2 separate regions of the Homo sapiens genome follow, and region 2 is linked to region 1. The links are contacts of gene promoters, found by promoter capture Hi-C in blood cells and fetal thymus (Javierre and others, 2016). All regions are on one chromosome and are shown on one strand. The core of a region is centred on a gene start or on the middle of the fragment in contact, and the rest is flanking DNA. Distances in the headings are between cores, read along the strand shown. Region 1 holds the start of ADGRB2 (adhesion G protein-coupled receptor B2). Region 2 overlaps PEF1-AS1 (PEF1 and COL16A1 antisense RNA 1).

The links. Contacts are between HindIII fragments. The CHiCAGO score rates a contact against its expected background, and 5 or more counts as called.
Region 2: a fragment that was not itself captured here is called in contact with the fragment with the promoter of ADGRB2 in region 1 in 1 of 17 cell types (endothelial precursors); the score reaches 6.3 in endothelial precursors.

The regions. Positions count from the first base shown.
Region 1 is chr1:31,762,552-31,767,041 of GRCh38, forward strand. ADGRB2 (adhesion G protein-coupled receptor B2) reads right to left here and starts at 1,789. Exons shown (of 33, transcript NM_001364857.2): 1 at 1,333-1,789. RefSeq lists an enhancer at 1-260 and a silencer at 202-471. The HindIII fragment of the contact is 4,434 bases long and covers 1-2,345 here.
Region 2 is chr1:31,647,649-31,652,138 of GRCh38, forward strand. It overlaps PEF1-AS1 (PEF1 and COL16A1 antisense RNA 1), which reads left to right. Exons shown (of 6, transcript NR_184313.1): 3 at 4,201-4,340. Among named protein-coding and RNA genes, the nearest start is that of PEF1, 5.0 kb to the left of the region's middle. The HindIII fragment of the contact is 1,574 bases long and covers 1,317-2,890 here.

The DNA of each region.
Region 1 (4,490 bases), core at 539-3,038:
TCTGTACGTGAAGGCTCAAAGGACTCTTGACTTGCTGCTGGGGTGAGCCCTCCACCCCACCCCAACCCATCCCACCCCCAGAACATATGGCCTGACAACCAGGAGTGTTTGGGCATGGCTAGCACGAGGAGGCACCTGGCCTGGCCCACCAATCTCCTCTCCCCAGGGATTTCCCAGCGTCAGTCCTGCAGCCACCGCTGATGCTCTGGCTGCGGAAACCCGGGGTTGCCCGCGGGAGAAGGGGTGGCGGGTCCCAGGCTTCGGGCAGGGGGCGCCAGAGGACGCCCAGGAGCCCGGCCGGCAGCTGGCGAGGCGGGCAGGCAGGCGGCATCTCTCGGCCCGGGCGCCCCTCCCCCCGGCGGGCAACAGACCCGTCGCCTGCTCTGCACGGGCCGCGGCGCGGAGGACTTCCCCCGGCTGTGCCCTCGGACCAAGCTGACTGCGGGAGTGGCCGCCAACTTCACAGCCTACAACCCCCTCCGGATCATGCCGGCCCTGGGGCTGCGGGAGGGTGCGTCTGGTGCCCAGCTCTATGACCAGGGGTGGGAGGATAGGGATGGGGGATGGACAGATAGACTCCGGCCAAAGATGGACACGGGAGTCAGGGATGCGGGTCCAGTCGGGATCTCAGCTGGAGGGGAGGGGGCGCGGAGCAGACACGGGGGACACGGCCCCAATTCCAAGCTGAGGGGAGGGGACTTGCAGCAAGATTGGCGAGGGAAGGCGGGACTCCGGTCAGATAGATATGGGGGAGGGGGCGCTAGGGGCAGAAATAGAGAAGAAGCATGGTCGGGGTACAGGCGCGGGGGAGGGTAGAAACTATGGGCAGACATGGATGGGGACAGGAAAGACTCCGGGCAGTGATGAAGTGGAGGAGAGGAGCAGGGTCCGGCATTCAGACCGTGACGGGAAATAGAGGGGGAGACACAGTTGAGCTGCAGGTTAATGGGGGGGCTCTAATAAAGGTGGGGGGCACACTGCCCGGATCCAGGCCGAGATAGGGAAAGACTCGAGACAGCAAGCACGGTCTGTGTCAGAATTCTGGAGGGGGAGACTTTAGCATAGATGGGTAAGAGGGTCGGTCCAGGCTGGGGGAGGGGGGGGGCCGAGATTAGAGATTCACCAGCGATTAAGGGGGCCTCGGCCCTAGGTTTGGGAGTTCCCCAGAAGATGGGGGTGGGCGAACGCTGAACGAACTCAGTTCGGGCTGGGGGAGAATTCAGCAGAGACGGGTTAGGAGAGCGCCCCGAGTCCGGGCCGGTGCGGAAACTCGGGACCGCGCCGGCAGGGCTCGGTGCGAGGCCAGGTCGGGGTCTGGGGCCGAGCACTCACCTGGGCGCCGTCAGCAGCAGGAGCGGGGGCCGGCGCTGGCGGGGGCGGCCACGGGGCGCAAGTTTGCCATCCCTAAGTCGGGGACCGGGCCGGGCGCAGGGTAGGTAGCTGCAGCCGCGCGGAGGGCCGAGGCTCCCGCTCTCCCGGGCGGCGGGTGCAGAAAAGGCGCCGCGGAGCAGCGCGGGGCGGGCGGGCGGGCGGCGCCGGGCCGGGCGCGGGCTCCTGCCGCCGCCGCCGCCGCCGCCTCCTTGCCGCGCCGCCCCCCGCTCCCCCGCTCCCCCGCCCCGAGCACCGCCCGCGCCGCGCGCCGCCTCCTATTTGCGGGCGGCGGCCGCAGCCCCGGGCTCTGAGAGCCGGTGCCGCATCCTCTTCGGTCTCTGAGCGCCGCCGCCGCTGCCGCCGAACCCGGTTCCTCCGGCCGCTCCGGCCGCTGCCCGCAGCGCGCGCCGGGCCGAGTGACGGCCGAGGCGGGACGCGGCGCCTGCGCGGGCCGGGCCCGGGAGGGGGCGCGCGCCGGGCCGGGCGCGAGGAGCCGCGGGAGAAGGGGCGGGGGCGACGCGCGCCGCCTCCTGTTAAAGGGGGAACAGCGCCAGCCGAGCCGATCGTGCCCCCCACCTCCCCGCCTTGGGCCCCAGGCGCCGGCGCGGGAGAAGCCCTGGGTAAGCCCCCGCCCAGCCCGCTGCTTCTTGGACCGCAGAATGAGGCGATCCGCGACGCCCCTCCAGCTATACCCATGCCGGAGGCTTGTCGCGCCGCCAGGGTGTCCCGGGCCCTGCAGGCTGAAGCATTTGCTCACCTTCCCATGTGCATTGCATATTGCATGTCCCTGTGCATGCAGGTGCCAGTCATGTGCGCTGAACTTTGCATATGCATACAGGTGCCCTAAGTGTGCACTGCCATGTTGCCTGGGTAGGTGCATGCAAGTGCCACACACATGCACGGTGTATTAACATGTGCCCAAGTCCTGAATGCATGTTGCTTGTTCCTGTGCGCAGGGATGTTATATGTATGCAAGCTTACAGGTGCCACATGTGTGCTGAGGACTGTGGGTAACTCATGTAGCAGCCACATATGTATACTGCAATGTGACATGTTTGATGCATACTGTAAACTGCAATGTTGCACGTCCTTAGGCACGGGGATGCTACACGTGTGCAGTGTGTTACATGTTTTCCTGAGTCCCTGTCTATTCCCACAAGTGCCTTTCCCTGTGCCAGGGGCGCCCCCATGTTGCATCTGTTTGTGTAGAAGCAGCAGAGATGTACAGACCCACCCCTTCCCCATCTTGGCACTAAGCCCAGAAACAGTTGGGTGGGGCCTGAGCCCTCATGGTTCAGGCGGTACACAGGGAGATGCCCATGGTTCAGGGCTCTGGTCAGGCAGTTTGTGGCCTGGGCATGTTGCCATCAGTAAGGTAGGCCGACCAGGGACGCACCATTGCAGCCAACACAAGTAGGTTAATCCCATGGCTTTGGTCAGAGGAGAAACCAGCAGGGGGCAGCTTTGCAATAAGGGTGGGATGGTTTCAGCTTTGCGATGAGGGTGGGATGGTTTCAGGACCATACTTTTTGAAGGTTCACTAGCCAGGAAGGGCCAAATTTTCAGTGCAAAGAAGTCCTCATTTCAGCAAATACCAACCCCACCTCTCCACTGATGCCCCTTAAGTTGTGGCACCCTCAAGATGGGGCAAGAAGAGAAAAGCCTACCTCTTCCCAGGGGCAGTACCAGGAAGAGGCATAGAACCGCCCTCTTTTCCCTCCTTCTGTCCCTCCCACCTCCAGCAGCCTCGGTGACATTTGTTGTGAGTGATTGTGAGAGATTATCAACTTTAATGGAAGGAGGTAATAAGGGACGATGAAGGAATCTCACCTGTCACCTTAAGAGAATTTATGAGGCCTTATGAGGCAGGGAGGAGGGCTGGGCCGGCACCTTCCCTTTCGCTGCGGATGCCCAAGGAGGCCTGTGCCTTGGGCCTAGCACTGGCAAGCAAGGCTCCTAGGGTTTGCTAGGCACCCTCAAACACAGTCAGACATCTCTGGATTTCAAGGCTCAGCTACTATGTGAAAGCCAGGCCAGGCAGGCCTTGCCAGCTGCAAAGTATGTTGAAAGCCACCCCAGGGCAGTGGGAAATCCGGGCCCCCTCCTTACATGGGCACTGGGAGGGGGAATGGGGTTGCTAGACTGGGGCTTCAAGGAGGTAGGCAAAAGTGGGGAAAATGGTGGAGACATGGGTTGCCCACAAGGATGCAAGCCCCTTAGAAATCTCCAGGACCCTGTCCAAAGCTCCAGCCCCCTCCTCTCCTACAGGGAGCTTGCTTCCCTCTTTTTGAATATTCATGATCATTAGCATATTAGATCAGAGAAACCTAGGCAGGTCTCTTGCAGATGTGATGCAGCTGGATGCCTGAGGCCCCCCCTCCTCCTTCCCCAGGAGGCAGCTGGGTGAGAGGTGATGGGAGGGACTGGCCCCAGATCGACAGCAGCGTTTTTGTCTGTCTCTCTGTTCCTCGCTAGCCCTCTGACTTCTTGATCCCTTCTATCAGCCACAAAAATGTACGCCCAAGGAAGCATAGGTAGACAGAGTGAGGGACTGACAGAGATGGTGTCCCTTAGCCGGGGGCTCAGTAGGGGCAAGGTGGGGAGGTCAGCAAGGCAAAGGGGGTTGTGGGAGCTGTGTGGGGAGAGCAGGACCTCCCCAGGGTTGTACAGGAGTGAGCAGGCGAGACTAGGGCTGACCTCTGGAAGGCTCTCCCTGGAGGCACCTCTCTGCATCAGGGTTTCCCCACCTCCTTTCCCAGGAGCCCCTGCCCTTCCAGACTCACTCTGGTAATAATGCCGCCCAGGAGGACTTGGAGTAATTACAAATCGTTTCCATATTCAAATCCAGCTGGTTGAAGATAAATTACTTCTCTGATGCTCAGGCGGGGGTGAAAAGAGCAAGCCTTAGCCCCAGGAGGGGCCTCCAGGGAGCCTGGGGCAGAGACTGGGCATGGGAAGGGGCACCGGCCAGAGCTTGAGCACAGAGGGCTTGAGCAGAATAAAGGGACATCCCTCTGAACCCCCTAAGCTGGACCAAGGACAATCACTTCAGCCCTTTAGCCCCATTGGGGCCCCCTCTGGAACCTCTGATGGGATTATGGGGATCCACTCCACAAGGG
Region 2 (4,490 bases), core at 854-3,353, 110 kb before region 1:
CTAGCATGAATTCAATGTTAGTAGTTATTATTATCATGTATTGAGTGCTTACTAGGTGCCAGACGTTGTGCTAAGTACTATGTGTTGTTTAATTTTCACCACAGTCTTTTGAGATAGAGACTATTACCCATTTATAATGAGGAGCTGAGGCTCAGAGAGGTTAAGTGACCTTCCTGTTATCAAAAAGATAAATGGAGCCCAGGCGCAGTGACTCGCGCCTATAATCCCAACACTTTGGGAGGCAGGGAGGAGGACCGCTTAAGCCTAGGAGTTCGAAACCAGCCTGGACAACATAGTGAGACCCTATCGCTACAAAAAATAGTTTTAAAAAATTAGCCAGGCATGGTGGCATGTGTCTGGAGTCCCAGCCACTCCAGAGGCCAAGGTGGGAGGATTGCTTGAGCCCAGGAGGTCAAGGCTGCAATGAGCTGTGTTTGCACCACTGCACTCCAGCCTGGGCAACAGAGAGACTCTGTCTGGGGAAAAAAAAAAAAAAAAAAAAAGATAAATGGAGAAGTAGGACTTGATCCCAGGTCTGCATTTTTTTTAACTACTCAGTATTTAATAGTTAGTAGATTGTGTCTTCTTTACCTTCCTAACCCCCCAGTTCAAAAAATATTGGTGGAATTGAGCTGCAAAACTTCAGAAGGGAAGAAGGTTGAAGGTCAAGTGGGTATTTGCCTGGAGAGAGAACAGTGACAAGCTGGCCTGCAAACTGGAGTCATGTGACACACACTCATTTATTCCACAAACATATGATCCCATTGGGTTCCCACCTCTTGCCAGGCTCTGTTCTAGGTGATGAGAATCCAACTCCTATGAGAATTATTTGCCCCCATTCCCCTATGCCCAGCAAAGGGCTTAGGAGAACTATCTGTGGGAGGTCTGTGCTATTTCGTGGATGGAGCATCCACATCTTCTCTTAGGGAGTCAGGAACGTGCCAAAGCCAACAGCCAGGGCTGTGCCTCTGAGGACCCACACAGGCCCAGGTATGTTTGTTTTGGAGGGGGCTGGATAAAAGAGAGATCAGGATCTTCCTAAGACTGAAAAACAATCAACTCACTTCCAAAACCTCATCTACCTGAGGCAGACAGAGGTGGGTGGAGAAGTTCCTGTTATTGTTTCACTTGTAGCCCAAGGGGAAAGCATGGATTCCAGACTTTTTTTAGAACACAGAGCACTTTCCTGAGTTCGTGGAAGCCCTGCGGTTGACCCATTAGGGGTGAGGCAGAGCTTGGTAATGAAAAGCCCATCCACTGGAAAATATTGCCTCCCCTAGAGACACAGCCTCCCAGGAGCCACTTGGCTCGCACCAAGCTTCTGTAAGGCTTACTGAGAAGGAATACCAACACCCACCTAATTATTATGGAATTAATTCTCTTTGATTCCAACTAGATCCAGTTCTGAAATTTAAATTCCAGTTGGATGCTGTGGATCAGAGGATGATTTGCAACTTTCCACAGAAGCAACAGAGGAATGAGAACAGCAGACGTGGCAATTTGGCCACACTCCCCTTCCATTATGGGATCATAAGTAGAGTACGTTGACATCGTCTATTCCCATAAACTGTTCAGGACAGCCACAAAAAAGATCTAGTCCTTTGGGATCTCCAGCACCAAAAAAAAAAAAAAAAAAATATCCATGGCCGGGCACGGTGGCTCACATCTATAATCCCAGCACTTTGGGAGGCCGAGGCAGGCAGATCACCTGAGGTCAGGAGTTCAAGACCAGCCTAACCAACATGGTGAAACTCTGTCTCTACTAAAAATACAAAAATTAGCTGGGCATGGTGGCTTGTGCCTGTAGTCCCAGCTACTCCGGAGGCTGAGGCAGGAGAATCACTCGAACCCTGGAGGTGGAGGTTGAGTGAGCCAAGATCGCACCACTGCACTCCAGCCTGAGTGACAGAGTGAGACTCTGTCCCCCCACCTCCAAAAAAAAAAAAAACTAGTCTTGTAAAGGGGTTAACAGACCCCAGATGAAGAAAGAGTCTAATTAGATTCTGTTGAATTTGAGTGACAGAGGAAAATATTATGACAAAAAATGAAGATTTAAATTCCAGAAGCATCAAAGTTTAGATTTTTCTCTGCAGAATAAATACACAGCAGCCTTTTCTCCATCTTATTGAGCAGAGGGTTTCTCAAATTAAGGACCCTCCAGTCCCATCCTTCACACTGCCATCAGCGAACTCCCCACTCGGCAAACCTGACTTGACACACCTTTGTGAGAAACCCACCAGTGGCTTCCAACTGTCTTCCCTGCTCATGCTCCAAAATCCAATCACACTGTCCTGTCTCCCGTCACTCAGCCTGCTGCAACCAGTCATTTCTGGGCCTTGGCACGTGCTGTTCCCTCTGCCTGAATCCATCTCTTCGTCTAGACATGGTTAGGTTCCCCAGCTGTGCACTCCCCTGTACCTGGCACTGCCCTATCATCCCACTTTATTGTAGGTGCTTGTTTAACTGTCTGCTCTCCCTGTGGATGCTGTGGGAGCAGGGACCATATCTGTCTAGTTTGCCTTGGGATCCCCAGAGCCTAGTACAGTCCCTGGGACAAAGTAGGAAGAGGAATGGACTCATCAAGTTAGACTTTTCCAATCTGAATGATCTGTGTGCTGCCTGGAAAGCCTGGAGTAGGTTAAGAAATGAAGACAGAAGGATAATGGGGTTGGAACGTGCAAAAGCTGCCTAAGAGGAATGGACGACACATGCCCCTCCTTGCTTTCTCTTCAGCTTACCCAGCTCCTGAACTGATGAGCAAGATCCATGGATTTCTTGCTGACCACAGTAACAGAAGAGACTATAAAATTCAGCTTTCCATCTGGTTCTTCATGGTCCAAGAAAATACAGCAATTTCAAACTCCGGGGAGACATGCATTCAAATCATGAAAGCTTAAACCTAGCCTGTCGTAGAATCCCTTAAGAGTAGCATGAATTTGACTCAGGAAGAAAAGTGAAGAAGGCATCATTTACTCTATAAGGATCAATTCCCTGGTGACCCTTAAAGGGGATGAGTTGGATGTTTCCTCATAGCAGTTTTTCCCCTCTGGCCTTCAAAGCCAACCTGCTCAATTCCACAGCTGGTCCTTGCGTCTCTTTCTTTCTGCCAGCGCCAACATGCTCCTCATGAGAAGGCCTATCATCAGCTAGTACTCGGCAGACTAGGCTGAAAGAGGAAGCTGGCCTTCCAATGGGAGTGCTTTAACATCTGTCCTCTTCCACTGTCCAAAACCTGGCTGCTACTTCAGTACAAAAATGATGCCTTTGCTTTTTAATGTTTTATGTTAGAACCAGGGTTAACTGAGAATAGCTGGGGAGGGATGAAAAAAGAATCAGCGCCTCCTTTATCTAAAAACATCACATGAGACACTCGGGCATGCTCAGGAGTCTGATTTCATTCTTCTGGCCACCAGCACACCTTTGCTCCTGGCAGGAAAAAAAAAAATAGGGCAAAGGTTCTGAAAAGCCATCAATAGGCTGGTCTCCTGGTATTTGGGACCCAACTAGAGAAGGGAGTTTTCAGAAATGTGCTAGAAATACCAGCTCTGCAGAGATTTGACAGCCGGTTTGAAGGCTTCAGGCAGTTTGGATAAGCATCTAGACTTTGGGTACATTTCTGAGCCTGCTCTGTGAGTCCTTTGAAGTGTATCCAACTTGAATAAACCTTCCAGATAGCTGGGGCCAGTGAAAAAGCTTTCTTTGGAAATCCCCCTGGAAGTGCCTTGTTGCTTTCTCACAGGGCAGCCAGCCCATCAGGACAAGAGATCTAAAAAGTAGAGAAGGAAGAAGCTCAAGAGAGAATGTTTCTATAATATTCAATTCACTGTCTTTTTTCCCCTTCCTAGCCTTTTTTACATAGGGAGAAGGACACAACAGATAGATCACCAAACTCCCAGTGGACTTTGAGGACCGTGAGCTTAGATCTGCTCGTGGCTTGCCCATGAACTCTTTGTACTGATACAACCTGGCTGTTTCTAAAGGCCTAGGCTAAGATGTACAGGAAAAGTACCACGTATATTAGAATAATAAAGAAAAACAGGAGATGTTATTTGCCCTCCAGAAAGTCATTGCTGGAAGCACTTATAGAGAGCTAGTGACCATGCATTGGTACAGGCAGAAGGTTCCATCTCATTTCCCAGAGAAGCATTCCCTGGATGCCTAGGACAGAGCTGGAGCCTGTCTTCTCTCCTGTTTGCACAGGTATTCTAATCACAGAATTACTGGAGCATCAAGAAGTGCCTGCATGCTTGGAAGGGCTTCCAGGCAGATGAACACACCTCAGCACCGGGTGGCATTTTCCCAGGGTGCAACCCGGACCGGCTCTGGGTCACACTGACAAGGTGAAGTGGATGGGCAAAGAGTGGGTGGGGTACTGAACACGGGTTTCTTTAGGGAATCAAATAGGGAGGGACCTTTAAAGCAGGAAGTGGGACCTTCCAACGTGCTTTGGTTCACTTGAGAGAAGAGGCTGAGTGATGCTCCTTCTCTAA